Regions from separate parts of the Homo sapiens genome. Here region 1 is linked to region 2. The links are contacts of gene promoters, found by promoter capture Hi-C in human tissues and cell types (Jung and others, 2019). All regions are on one chromosome and are shown on one strand. Each heading gives the region's core, a stretch centred on a gene start or on the middle of the fragment in contact. The rest is flanking DNA. Distances are from core to core; before and after follow the strand shown. Region 1 holds the start of ZNF273 (zinc finger protein 273). Region 2 holds the start of ZNF736 (zinc finger protein 736).

Region 1 (6,541 bases), core at 3,736-6,235, 590 kb after region 2:
ATGTTGGCCAGGCTGGTCTCGAACTCCTGACCTCAGGTGATCTACCTGCCTCAGCCTCCCAAAGTGCTGGGATTACAGGCATGAGCTACCGTGCCCGGCGCTGGTATGCTTTTTCACAATAACTTCAATTCTAGAAGGGTACCCACTGGTCTTTATGGGGTTTCTGTAACGGATACTGTAACCCTATGCCACCGGAATGGTGCAGACATGCTGATTTTATTAGAATGAGTTCAGCCTTCTTGGTAGACTATTGGTATCCCAGAGGCTGACCATTCACTGCAGCTTATTAAATGTAGCTCCATGATGCCAATGAGTCCTTTCAGCCAGGTTGCCTTTTTCTTCTCATTGATGTAGTCAGGTCGTGATCTCTTTTGCTTGTCTTATGCTATTCCAGATGATAGGTGATTATTTCTTCCGTAAGTGAGACCCTCTTTTCTTTTCTCTGCCATGGGATCCTCCTATGATGTGTCTCTTTCTCTTAAAAGCACTTGTAATCCCAGCACTTTGGGAGGCCGAGGCGGGCGGATCACATGAGGTTGGGAGTTCGAGACCAGCCTGACCAACATGGAGAAAGGCCGTCTCTACTAAAAATACAAAATTAGCCGGGCACGATGGCACATGCCGGTAATCTCAGCTACTCGGGAGGCTGAGGTGGGAGAATCGCTTGAACCCGGAGGTGGAGGTTGCGGTGAGCCCACATTGTGCGAGTGAAACTCCTTCTCAAAAAGCACCGCTGCTTCGGGCGCGGTGGCTCACGCCTGTAATCCTAGCACTACTTTGGGAGGCCAAGGCGGGCAGATCACTTGAGGTCATGTATAATATTATACATAATATTATATATTATTATACATATTTTATATTATTATATACAATAATATATATTACATGAAAAATTACATACTGCTCACATATTAAAATAATATTTTGAATATTAGAATATTTGAATTCTAGAACTAGAATATATAACGATGAAATTGTTACAATAAATTCCACCTGTTTCTTCCTTTTTTTTTTAAGTTTGGCTACTAGAATATTTAAAATTCACATGTGGCTTACATTTTATTTCAGAGAATTAACTCCGTTTTAAAATCTCAGGCTGCCTGCTTAAAGGACCAGAAGCTAGGAAGGTCGTAAAATCGGATATTAAATAATGTTATTATATTTTTTCCATTTGTTAATAGCCATATAATTGTGAACCTCAAATATCTGAGACAGATCTCAGTTAATTTAGAAAGTTTATTCTGAGGCCAGGCGCGGTGGCTCACGCCTGTAATCCCAGCACTTTGGGAAGCCGAGGCGGGTGGATCACCTGAGGTCAGGAGTTCAAGACCAGCCTGGACAAAGTGGTGAAACCCCGTCTTTACTAAAAATAGAAAAATTAGCCAGCTACTCTGGAGGCTGAGGCAGGAGAATCGCTTGAACCCCGGAGGGAGGTGGAAGTTGCAGTAGCAGAGATCGGATCGTGCCACTGCACTCCAGCCTGGAAGACAGAGCGAGACTCCGAAAGAGACAGAGAGAGAGAAAGAAAAAGAAAGAAAGAAAACTGGAAGTGGGGAGGCGGCTTCCAGGTCCTAGGTAGATAAAAGACAAATGGTTGCATTCTTTTGAGTTCCTGATTAGCCTGGGAAAAGGAGGCAATCAGATATGCAATCATCTCAGTGAGCAGAGGGGTGACTTTGAATAGAATGGAAGGCAGGTTTGCCCTAAGCAGTTCCCAGCTTGACTTTTCCCTATAGCTTAGTGATTTTGGGGCCGCAAAATTTATTTTCCTTTCACACACTATACTATTTATTAATATAAATGCATATGACCTTATACACAAGGTTAAATGCAAATACCCCGTGGGTGGGCCGGGCTCAGTTCAGGGAGGAAGCCCTGACTGAAAAGCCTGCAGTTTAGGTTTCATTCTATCTTCTTTCAGCCCAGCAACTGAGCACACCTTCTGTCATTCAGGGCCTGAGGGGGCGGGTCCTTAAACATCCTCCAATCAGGGACGCTGGGCTGGGACCCGTCCAATCAGGCACGCAGCTGGAGCGGACAGGACGGCTTCCGGGATTTGGCGGGGCCTTTGTCTCTCGCTGCAGTCGCAGCTCCAGGTCTCGTCTTCACTGCTCTATGTCCTCTGCTCCTAGAGGTCCACCTTCTGTGGCCCCGTTACCTGCAGGTATTGGGAGATCCACAGCTAAGACGCCAGGACTCCCTGGAAGCCTAGAAATGGTGAGAGTGCCGGGTCCCAGATCCCGAGAGAGGGGGAGGGCCTGGTTGGAACTGGTGGGAAGTGGATGTGGCGAGACTCCGGCCTCCCTGCAGTAGACTCCAAAATCCGCGGCCAGGAGTTCTCCTTGGCGCAGCTCGGCCCTCAGTCCCCTTCAGTCATAAGATGGCTGCTGGGCTGGCAGCCGGGATCCCGGGCGTCCTGTCTCCTCCCTGCGCAGTGACCGTTCCCTGGCCTGGAGCCCTCCCTGGGCAGCTCTGCTGCCGCAGCGCCGCATCTCTCCTCGATGACTCGGGATGCAGGGTTCATGACTAGGAAGAGCTTTGGTCCATGGGGTTCCCAGACCCTCCTTTTTTCTATTAAAAATGTATGGAAGTCACCGCGAAAATATTAAAGAATTTAATCAGACAGTCATTCACAAATTATAGAGCACCCAGCTGTGGTTTGTAGTTTGTGGTCCATGGGAAGGGCTTGAAGGAAAGACTTTTATAAGGTGTGTGATGAAGAAAGCCAATAATTGGTTAGGTACCGTTATGTAGTTTCTTAATTTGTAAATTCAGGGTGGACATTTCCTGGTTATGTCATCAGAGGTTAATTGGCAGTTTATGGTTGGTTAAGCCTGAATTTTGTTTCCCTCAATGTTGTAATTTACAAAAAGTTTGAGTTAGATTTTTTTTTCTTTCTTTCTGAGACAGAGTCTCACACTGTCGCTCAGGCTGGAGTGCAATGGCAGCCATCTCGGCTCACTGCAACCAACGCCTCCCGGGTTCATGCAATTCTCCTGCTTCAGCCTCCCAAGTAACTGGGATTACAGGCGCACGCCGCCACGCCCAGCTAACTTTTCTGTATTTTAGTAGAGTCTGGGTTTCACTGTGTTGCCCAGCCTGGTCTCGAACTCCTGAGCTCAGGCAATCCACCCGCCTCCGCCTCCCAAAGTGCTAGGACTACAGGCGTGAGCCACCGCGCCCGGCCAATTTGAGTTAGATTTTTTTAAAAAATGGGGACCCTGGGACTGGAGCTACCTCAGTCTAATTGCCTGCTACTTAATTGTGTACACACTCTACAGGGGATAGATTTTCCCCTGAAATTTTCACATGTGGCCCAAGCAGAGTCTCAAGACTACTCCCCACCCCCAATTCCTTCAGCCTAACTCTGGCTTGCAGTAAAATACCAAATTTCCAGTTTTTTCTGACATTCCGAAATGCCAACTTCCTCATCCTAATTCACATTATTTTAGTGTACATTTTAGATACTGTATTTTAATTAATCATTTTTTGACACAGCATTGGATAGCACTTTAGAAAAATTTTTTTCTGTTTGAAAATATTTCCCAGGAGAAGAAAGCAAAGAATCATCCCCTGACACTGTATTGTAAAAAAATCTCTGTGCCTCTTTTTAAAATAATCTTCCCTAGGCACAGAGATCTTACCAAAATGTTTTTGGGTCAAGGTTTCCCTTTGGAAACTTTATGGAGTGCTGTTTCCTCAGCCACTCCTCAGTGTTTTCCTGGTTTTGAGTTTTAGTACTGTCTGGGGATAAACCAAGATACCCACAATCGCTATGTCTGCTACAATGTTTAGTGAATATCAGCTCCTGGGTCATTTTCTCCCATAGGACAGTCTCAGGTATGGAGTGTAGCTTCTTAAAAGAGCAGGTGGATGTCGTGGGGCTGAGAGGCATCTCCTGGTGCACTTTTTTTTTTTTTTTTTTTTTTTTTTGAGACAGTCTCATTCTGTCGCCCAGGCTGGAGTGCAATGGGGCGATCGTGGCTCACTGCAAACTCCGCCTCCCAGGTTCAAGCGATTCTCCAGTCTCAGCCTACCAAGTAGCTGGGATTACAAGTGCACGCCGACACACCTGGCTAATTTTTGTGTTTTTTGTAGAGAGGAGGTTTCACCATGTTGGCTGTACTGGCCTTGAACTCCTGGCCTCAAGTGATCCGCCCACCTTGGCGTCCCAGAGTGCTGAGATTACAGGCGTGAGGCACCCCACGCTGGCCACACTTTTTTTTTTTTTTTTTTTTTTGAAAAGCTAACCCGTTGAGACATTAAGATTGTCTTCACCCAATCCAGCTTTCATTTCTTGGAGACAGATTGCTGGTCAGCCAATCAGATGCTGGTATTAAGGGGAAAACAAATAATTTCTTCCCCCTGAATTCTCTTAACATTTGTGAAAGAAAAAATAGTGTACCAAAAAAACTAAAAAAAACTTACTCCAGTGAGATGGTGCAAGAACTTGCAAACTAAAATGCATCTGGAGCAGTAACTGAGGTATAGTGTCTCCGAAGAGGGTGGTCGTTGAGCACTTAAGTGAGCAGGATGGGGTGGGAGAATCAAGGGATCGTGGCCTGACTTGACACGAGTCAAACACATCAGTTTTCTAATCAGCACTGCCACTCTCTGGGGGTTTATCATCTTGAAAAGATTTCTTCACTTTTTTTGACTTCAGTTTTTTATTGTAAGTTGCATTTTATTAGTAAAACTTGAAAGGTAAAAAATTTACAAAAAGGTGGGTTTCAGGGAGAGAAATAATATCTAATTATATAGTCCATTTGTTAAAAATTCTCATTTATCTTTTTCTTTGCCAGAATGAGTTTAAGAATTTTCTCGGGTGTGTCTTTTATGGGTGAGATCAAACAGAATTCCAAGTCTTGGCTTTTAGAATGCTAACCAAGGAAAAAAATAGGGAGAATCTCTTTTTAATTTTGGCTGTAGAAAATAAATACTTTTCCACAAGAATATGTAGTAGATAATTGGTGAGTTACTTAGATTTGTGAAAACATCAGTTCCTCTTTATGCAGAGTACATTTGTAACAGTGAATATCTCTAGTCTATGTCCTGTTATCTTGATTTCTGAGTTTAATGCTGAATTATATGGTAAAACTTGGTACCTCCCAGAAGCGTTCCCATATGACTGTTTACTACATGATTTTTAATAAAAATTATAAAATAATACGTTTATCATCTAAAAGGAATGGATACTTTTGCTTTTCTTGTTGAGGTATAAAATGTAAACACCTTAAAATGTCTTCCCCTTATATGATCACTGTGTTTGAGTAATTTTGCTGGATTTTTTAAACACTTACTTTCAAAAACCAAGTTAATACCTCTGACATGGAAATTAAAGCTTCAGCCCAGTGACTCTAAGCTAAGGCTAATATGGAGCCTGCAAAAGGAGGTTATTAAAGGCCCAGTTAGGTTCTTTTTGGGGAGCCTCCCCTGCAGATGTCCCAGCCTGCTCACACCAGCCATGAAGAAGCCTTTATACTGAGAGAAGCTACAGAGCCCAGGAAAGCTGGGGACCCACAGGCAGATGCAGTTAAAGTTAAGATGGAAGGGGATTAGGAAGGTCTTACTGGAGATGAAGTTGTTACTGTTTTAAGGCAGTTTCTAGACTTACAAAATAAAACAAAGTTATGTAAAAAAAAAAATTTGAATTCCAAAAGAGTGTTGCAACAGGCAAAGTACCAACTATAAGATCTTGAAGGACTGCAAAGTTTAGGCAGACAAGATTAGAAAGAAGGTGGGAGGGGATGGCAAATAGAAGGTGGGAAAATTAGATTTTATATCAGAGAATGTTTTACCCTGAAGTCAGCATGTTCTTAGCTGGGACATAAAATGGTGTATGTTGGTTCAGACTGAGGGTAGCTCAAAATTCTGAGCCTGTGGGAAGAAGATAAACTTAAGTAAAGTTTGATTAAGAAATATTTCCTCTTAGCCACTGAGACCAGTTCAGCTGTTTTTTGTTTGTTTGTTGTTTGTTTTTAATGAGAAAAGGAAATGTGGAGTCTGTGTTTGGTTATGTGATAGGTAAGAAAAGAGCACCATCTAAGTCATAATGGGAGGGTGTTTCTTTCCATCAACTGTTCCTGGAGAGCACAAAGGATGGATAATTTTATTAATCACAGCTATTTACCAGGATTATCTATGTGCTTCATCTTTCCCCACCTCTTTTCTTGGTCCTATACATTTCTTCCATTTGAGTTTTCCTGCGTTGTGTCTTTTATAATAAACTGGTCAACATAACTACAGTGTTTGCTGAGTTCTGTGAGTAGCTCTATCAAATTATTGAACTTGAGGGAGGTTATGGGAGTCCCAAATTTTTAAACAGTAACCCCAGTGTATAGATGGGCCTATGGAATTTGTGACTGGCATCTGCAGTGAGGATAGTGTTGTGGGACTGAGCCCTGAATCAGGGTCTGTGCTGACCCTGGGTGGTGTCAGAATTCAAATGTTAGACAATTAGTTGGTGTTAGAGAATTGCTTGGTATTCCACAAACTCTAGAGATTTGGTACCAGAGGAAAGATATCACAGAAGCCTGGCCTG
Region 2 (6,483 bases), core at 142-2,641:
CCACTCAGCCCAGCTCTTCCAGGCCTTTACTCTGATTTCTCTTATAGAGGCATTTCAGGGACTGTTGCCACAGGAGGGAAGGGCTGAGGGAGAAAGGCCCCTTGCTCTTTTGATGTGGAGGCCTCCAGCTGGGAGGGAGGAGCTCTTCCCTCTGAATCCCTGGAGCTCTTCCCCATCACAGGTACCTGCCTTTTTGCTGCTTTAGCCTCATCTGGGCTTTCTGTGGTTTCTTCTCTAGGGTGGCCAACTTGGGTGTCTTCCTCTGCCAGGGTCAAGGACAAGGTCAGTGATATTATGCTCCCTTCACCCAGTTATGCCCAGTTACATTGACCTGGTACCCTGGATAACTGGTGTGAGTCAAGCTGGTCCAGTGCTCCTGCCACCTCCAGTAAACTCTGATTCTAGATTCACTCCCTGCTGCAACACTCACTGTGTGTGGAACCTTGGGCATGCAGCCAGGCCTCCCTGAGACTGTTTCTCAACTTGAAAGTGTGATGGGAACCACACCTACCTCACTGGGCCTCGTGAGGACTCAGTTATATGTAGCCGTCACCATTGTTCTCATCATCATCTCTCTCAGGAAGAGCCAGGCACAAGCACTCTCAAATTTTTCTCCTTTGAAGCTCCTCATTACCCTGTGAGGCTCATCATCCCTACATTTTTTAGATAAGAAAACAGAGGCCCAAAGAGGGCAGTGACTTGCCCAGGGCTCTACAGAAGAGGCCGGCTCCTCCCCACACCTGGAGGCCCTGACCTAGCTGACTTTACCCCACAGCCCAGCACTATCCCTGACTAGGGTCCCATCTTGGTTCTCCATGCTTGTTTAGGTCCTCAGGCAGGCTCAGCTTTGGTGGGAAAGAGACAGGGTGTTTTGGGAGGCCTGGGCGAGTGGCACCTCTAACCAATCTGCTAGGCCCTCACCTCTCAGTCTCACTGAGACACTCCATTAATTGGAAGCAGACCCAAAATTGCTTCACAGACTGAAGGTGATAATTGTCTACAGCCAGCTGAAGCAGCTGCATCTCCTGGAGGACTTTGATCTCCTGCAGCTAAAGGGAAAGACAGGATGCTGAGACAGGGCCTGCAGCATACACATAACTATAATTCAGAATGTAATATATACACACACACGAAAATATAATCAGAAAGTGATATAATCTTATATGCAAGGTTAAATACAAATGTCTCTCAGGCAGGGCCAGGCCCCCAGCACAGGGAGGACTCGCCTGAAAACGCTGCAGGCAAAAACCTGTCACCCTTGCCTCATTCAGCCCAGTGTCTGATTACATCTTCTGTCACTTAGGATTGAAACGGGTGGGGCCTGGAGCCCTAGCCAATCAGTGGCGCCAGCGTGAAACTGTCCAATCAAGTGCGCAGCTACAGAGGAAGAGGCGGCCTCTTCAATATGGCGGGGCCTTTGTCTCCTAGCTTCCGGGCTCTGATCCTAGTTCGCGTCTCCACTGTTCCATCTCCTCCGTTCCTGGAGTTCCTCGGTGACTCTACTATAGCTTCTGTTATCCTGTGACCTGCAGGTACTGGGAGATCCATAGGGAGGACGGCGGAACATCTGGAGGCTGGGAAATGGTGAGTGCGTGGAGTGGGTGTCCCGAGAATGGGGAAGAGGCTGTTTGAATCCGGCCGGAACCGGCTGCGGTGGTATCTGGGCCTTCTCGCGGTCTGCTCTGGAGTCTGCATCCCCGAGTCCCCGCGGGCACAGCTCAATCCTCATTTCCCTCCATCGCAGATTAGGGGCTGAGCCAGCAGCCAAAACGCTACGTCTTGTTTTGTCCCTAAACTCGAATTTCTCCCCAGCTCAGATCCCTTCCTGGGCAGCTCTGTGCCGCAACCTCGAGTCTCCCTCCTCCAGATTGTGTGGGGGTGTTGGGAGTGTCATAAGACGGGAATTCTCATTTAGGGTCTGGAGTTCCTCCGTGGAAGAAGCAGTGGGCCGTGGGGTCCCTAGTCCCTCCTTTCTCCTTTTAAAAATAAAATCATGGCCCTTTTTTAAATTTATTTATTTTTGAGACAGTGTCTCACTCTGTTGCCCAGGCTAAAGTGCATTTCGGTTCACTGCAGCCTCCACCTACTGGGCTCAGATGATCCTCTCACCCCAGCCCCCCAAGTAGCTAGGACTAGAGGGGTGCGCCACCACGCCTATTTTGTTTTGTTTGTTTTTGTAGAGACAGGCTTTTGCCATGTTGCTCAGGCTGGTCTCGAACTCCCCGAGCTCAGGTCTCAGGTGATCCGCCCGCCTCGGGCCTCCTAAAGTGCCGGGATTACGTGCATGACCCACCACCCTAGCCTAAATTGAGGCAACTTTAGGATATAATTTGGATGTGTTTTCCAGCCCAAATCTCCTATTTAAATGTAATCCCCCATGTTGGAGGTGGGGCCTGGTGGAAGGATTGTGGGCCCGGATTTCTCACGAATAGTTTAGCACCATTCCTCTTGGTATTGTCCTCTCAATAGTGAGTGAGTTCCCTGAAGTTCATCATTTAGAAGTGTACAGCACCCCACCTTGCCTCTTTTTCAAGCTCTTGCTTCACCTTCATCCATGATTTTAAGCTTTCTGGGTGGGGCCTCCCCAGAAGCAGACGCTGGTGTTATGCTTTCTATGCAGCCTGTGGAACCATGAGCCAATTAATCCTCTTATAAATTACCCAGTCTGAGGTATTTATAGTAATGCCAGAAGCGATTAATACAAATAGTTTACTTGCACAAACAGTAATTTATCAATCAGAGAACACCCAGCTATGATTTGTTGTTTGGGGGCTCAAAGGAGGGTCTTGGAACAAAAGGTTGTTTTTTTTTTTTAAGAGGTATGAGGAAGCAAACCAGATTCAATATTTGATTGGTTACAGTTACGTATTGCATTTGCAGCCCTCCGGTGGAAATGTCCTGGTTATGTAATTAGAGCTTTTTATTGGCAGCTTGTGGTTGGTTAAGCCTAAGTTGTTTTGTTGTTGTTGTTGTTGTTTCTCAAAGTTAATAATTTACCAGAAATTCCTTCGACGTAGTTAGGTTTCCTTAGGCAGAATCCCAGGGCACCATGGCCACTTCAGCCTAATTGCTAGCTATTTAATTATTTTAATGCTCCACAGGGTCGTTGGTTTTCTCTGCATTTTTCAAATGTTTGGCAAGCAGGGTCTCAAATCTAAAACTGTTCTCCCAGCCTAACTGTTCTAGGGACTGTATAAAATTCTAAATTTCCAATTTCTTTCCCACATTCCCAAATGCCAACTATCCCTCTCCAAATCACATTATGAACTATCAGTTCTTTATTTAATTTTAAAACGGATGTGGCATTTTGTTTATTTTTGTTTAACAGAGCCGTGGGTGGCTCTTTTTAATATATTAGTCTGTTTGTGCATATTTCACAGGACAGAAAAGCAAAGAGTAGTCACCTGACACTGCGCATCTCCTCTCATCTTCTCTAGGCACGCGCGCCTTCCCAGAATGTCTTTGGATCCTTTGCAGGGTGATGTGTCCTCAGTCACTCTCCTGTGTTTTCCTGGTCCAAGTATTACAGCTTTCTGGGGATGATCCAAGATACCCACAAGGACCATATCTCTTGGAGTGTCTAGCAAACATTAGCCCCTGGGTCATCTCCTTTCAGAGAAGAGCCTGAGGCATTGGGTGGAGCCTCTCAGGGGAGCAGCTGGATGCCCTCGTGCTGAGAGCAGTTTCCTGATTCACCCTTCCTCTAAAAAGCTAACTGCTTTAACATTAAGATTTTTTTCCCCTCAATCCTAGTTTTCATTTCTTGCAGACACATTGGTGGTCAACCAATCAGGTGCTGATATTGAGGGGAAAAGGCACAAATGCATCTTGCCCTCTGGTTTCTCTCAGGCTTGTGAAGGAGAATAACTGTCCCAAAGTACAGGAAAGATCCACTCTAGTGAGGGAGTGTATAAATTTGCAAAGCAAAATACACATCTGCCACACAGGGGGCAAGTGCAGTATCTTTTGGGAGAGTGATGATCAAGTACTTTAGTGAGCAGAATGGGGGTGGGAGAATCTCTCAAGTGATTGACACATGAGTCTAAAACATTTGTGTTCCAGTCAGCACTACTTCTCCCTGTGTTTGTCACCTTCAATATATATGTTCAGTTATTTCAACTTCAGTTTTTCATTAATTGTATAATGGATTTTATCATTAGAGCTTGAAAGATTAAAAAAAAAATTTTCTAAAAGAAAAGAGGTAGATTTTAGAAAAAAATAGTTTATATTCCATTGGTTGAAAATTCTCATTTACCTTTTATATTTCCCACAGTGAGTGTAGTAAGATTCCGCGTCTGTTCTATTTAGCATGATTTCAAACAGAATCCCAGGGCTTAGCTTTGGGAATGCTACCTGGGAAAAGACAGAGGAAATGTCTCTCTCATGATGCCTGCAGAAAAATAAATACATTTCTACAAGAAAGTGTGGTAGATTAACACGTAAATTACAAAACATTCATGAAAACATCAGTTTCTCTCTTGTGCAGGGTGGAGAATTTGTGACAGTGGCCAACTCATTTTTTTAAAAAATTTCTACTTTGTAGGAAGTATTTATGTGTACACAATAAAAAGATATTTCCCACCATACATACATATCTTTGCTCAGGTAATATATGTAACCTAAAGCAATATGATTGTCTAGTATAATCGTAGCCAGTGAATCAGTAGCTTTTTTTTGAGCTGCAATGGATGTAACAGTTTTATCAGTAATTTTTTCTAAGCTTATAAAAATATTTTTAATCATGTGTTCATGGGAGGTGACACCTCACCAAGGCAAAAACATTTTTTTCCAATAAAATGAATGAAGCTGTTTTTTGAAAGCCAGGCAGATAATTAGCAGATTTTTTTCAAATAGAATCTTAATCTAAAACAGATTGGTGGCCATGCCTGTGGAAAAGTTAGAGAGAATTTGTCCAGTACTGGGTTTTTTCAGAGCTATGTAGAGAGAGCAGTGACCAGATATTTTAAAAGACATTACCCTTCAATTTAGTGGCACAGGTACTGGCCAAGAAAATCTAATATGGTTCCTTCCAACAAATTTGGAGTAAATCTTCTTCATAAAAGTAGAAAATCAAATTTTATTTTTATATTATTAATATTAAAGCTAACCTTAGGAAAGCATTATAAACAGATGTATTCAATCTCAATCAGCTTTGACCATACAAGATTTCTGTAAACCTTTTATAACCCCTTAAAATTTTATTTTTCTCTTTCTCCAGCTTTCTATATCCATTAAGTTTACCTCATTTTCTTTATCTTTTTTCTCTCAATTTTATGTATTTTTTAAATAACCTCTAAACTCAGCAAAATTGCCGTTTCTTTAAGAAAAACCACATTCTCACATCTGTTTCTAAAATATTTTTTTTTCATCAAGAAACACATTTTCTTTGTACTGTGTATGTAAAGTTGTTTCTCTCCTTAACAATAGTTTTAGTTACGAATCTTGGGCAGAATTTTAATTTTTAATAATCTTAATTTATAGTGAAAGCCTGAGAAGTAAGCAATTTTAACTATTAGTCATGAACTAAAATTTTATAAAGATATATTTTCTAATTTTTAGAAACATAGGATTTTAAATGGAAACATTTTTAATGTGGAATAGGGCATACTAACAGATCTAAATATCTTTGGTTTCTGTGAAGAAACCAAAAATATTTAGCTTAAACTTGTATTTAAAAATTAATATCTTAGCATTTTGTCTTACTTGGAGATAATTTAGATGTTTAATGAATAGCCATCATTTAATGTAGCTTAGCAACAGTCTACGAGTGTAGTTTCCATAAAGATTTGAGAAACTATTTAAATTAAACACATTACAAAACAATCAGTATTGTAAGTTTATAAACTTTTGTCCCATTTACATGCTTTATTTATTTATTCTTAACAATTATTTTTGTAAAATCTCATGAAACAGACTAATATACTCATCTAAAGTTAAACTTCCTATTATCCATTTTTATATTACCATGTTGGGCAAGTATCATAAAAGCAATAAAGTTAAATATATACATATTTTGCTGAGAAGTCAAAAGACTTTTTTAAAATTAAACTAACAATATTAAACTAGTCATGTTTACCAAAAGATTTACTCAATTCACATATTCTTAAAAATATTGGGCTTATTTTTTTAATTCATGACCAGTTATCTTTAAGTTAATTCAGTACCATGTAGATAATACACAAAGACATTTATAGACATATATATACATGTAGACACAACATATAACTTACTCATGTTTGTATCTAAAAGCCCTAGAGAGGGAGTTCATTGTAAAAGGGAGTAGAGCTTCAGACCTGAAAAGAAACTGTTTACCCACAACTCTGGGGGCTTCATGAGGAAAAACAGAGGTACCCTGCCAAAAAGGAGAAGCCTGTGGCACTTTATCTGTGCTCTTCAAGGGGTCTCAGGCTGCTAGAAGTTTCCTTTAGTTGTCCTCTATAGTGACAAAAGGTTTTAAGTGGAACATGAGACAGATAGAAGTAA

Evidence for each region. The method cuts DNA at HindIII sites, captures the fragments that hold promoters and counts their contacts. A contact is called where the count stands out against the background at its distance.
Region 1: a fragment that was not itself captured here is called in contact with the fragment with the promoter of ZNF736 in region 2 in 1 of the 25 tissues and cell types used here (lymphoblastoid cells).

The regions. Positions count from the first base shown.
Region 1 is chr7:64,901,203-64,907,743 of GRCh38, forward strand. ZNF273 (zinc finger protein 273) reads left to right here and starts at 2,071. Exons shown (of 4, transcript NM_021148.3): 1 at 2,071-2,217. The coding sequence starts at 2,116. RefSeq lists enhancers at 1,066-1,938, 1,606-1,655, 1,676-1,725, 1,939-2,811, 2,126-2,185 and 1 more. The HindIII fragment of the contact is 5,308 bases long and covers 2,332-6,541 here.
Region 2 is chr7:64,312,570-64,319,052 of GRCh38, forward strand. It overlaps ZNF736 (zinc finger protein 736), which reads left to right and starts at 1,392. Exons shown (of 4, transcript NM_001170905.3): 1 at 1,392-1,584. The coding sequence starts at 1,582. RefSeq lists an enhancer at 1,445-1,624. The HindIII fragment of the contact is 17,485 bases long and covers 1-3,642 here.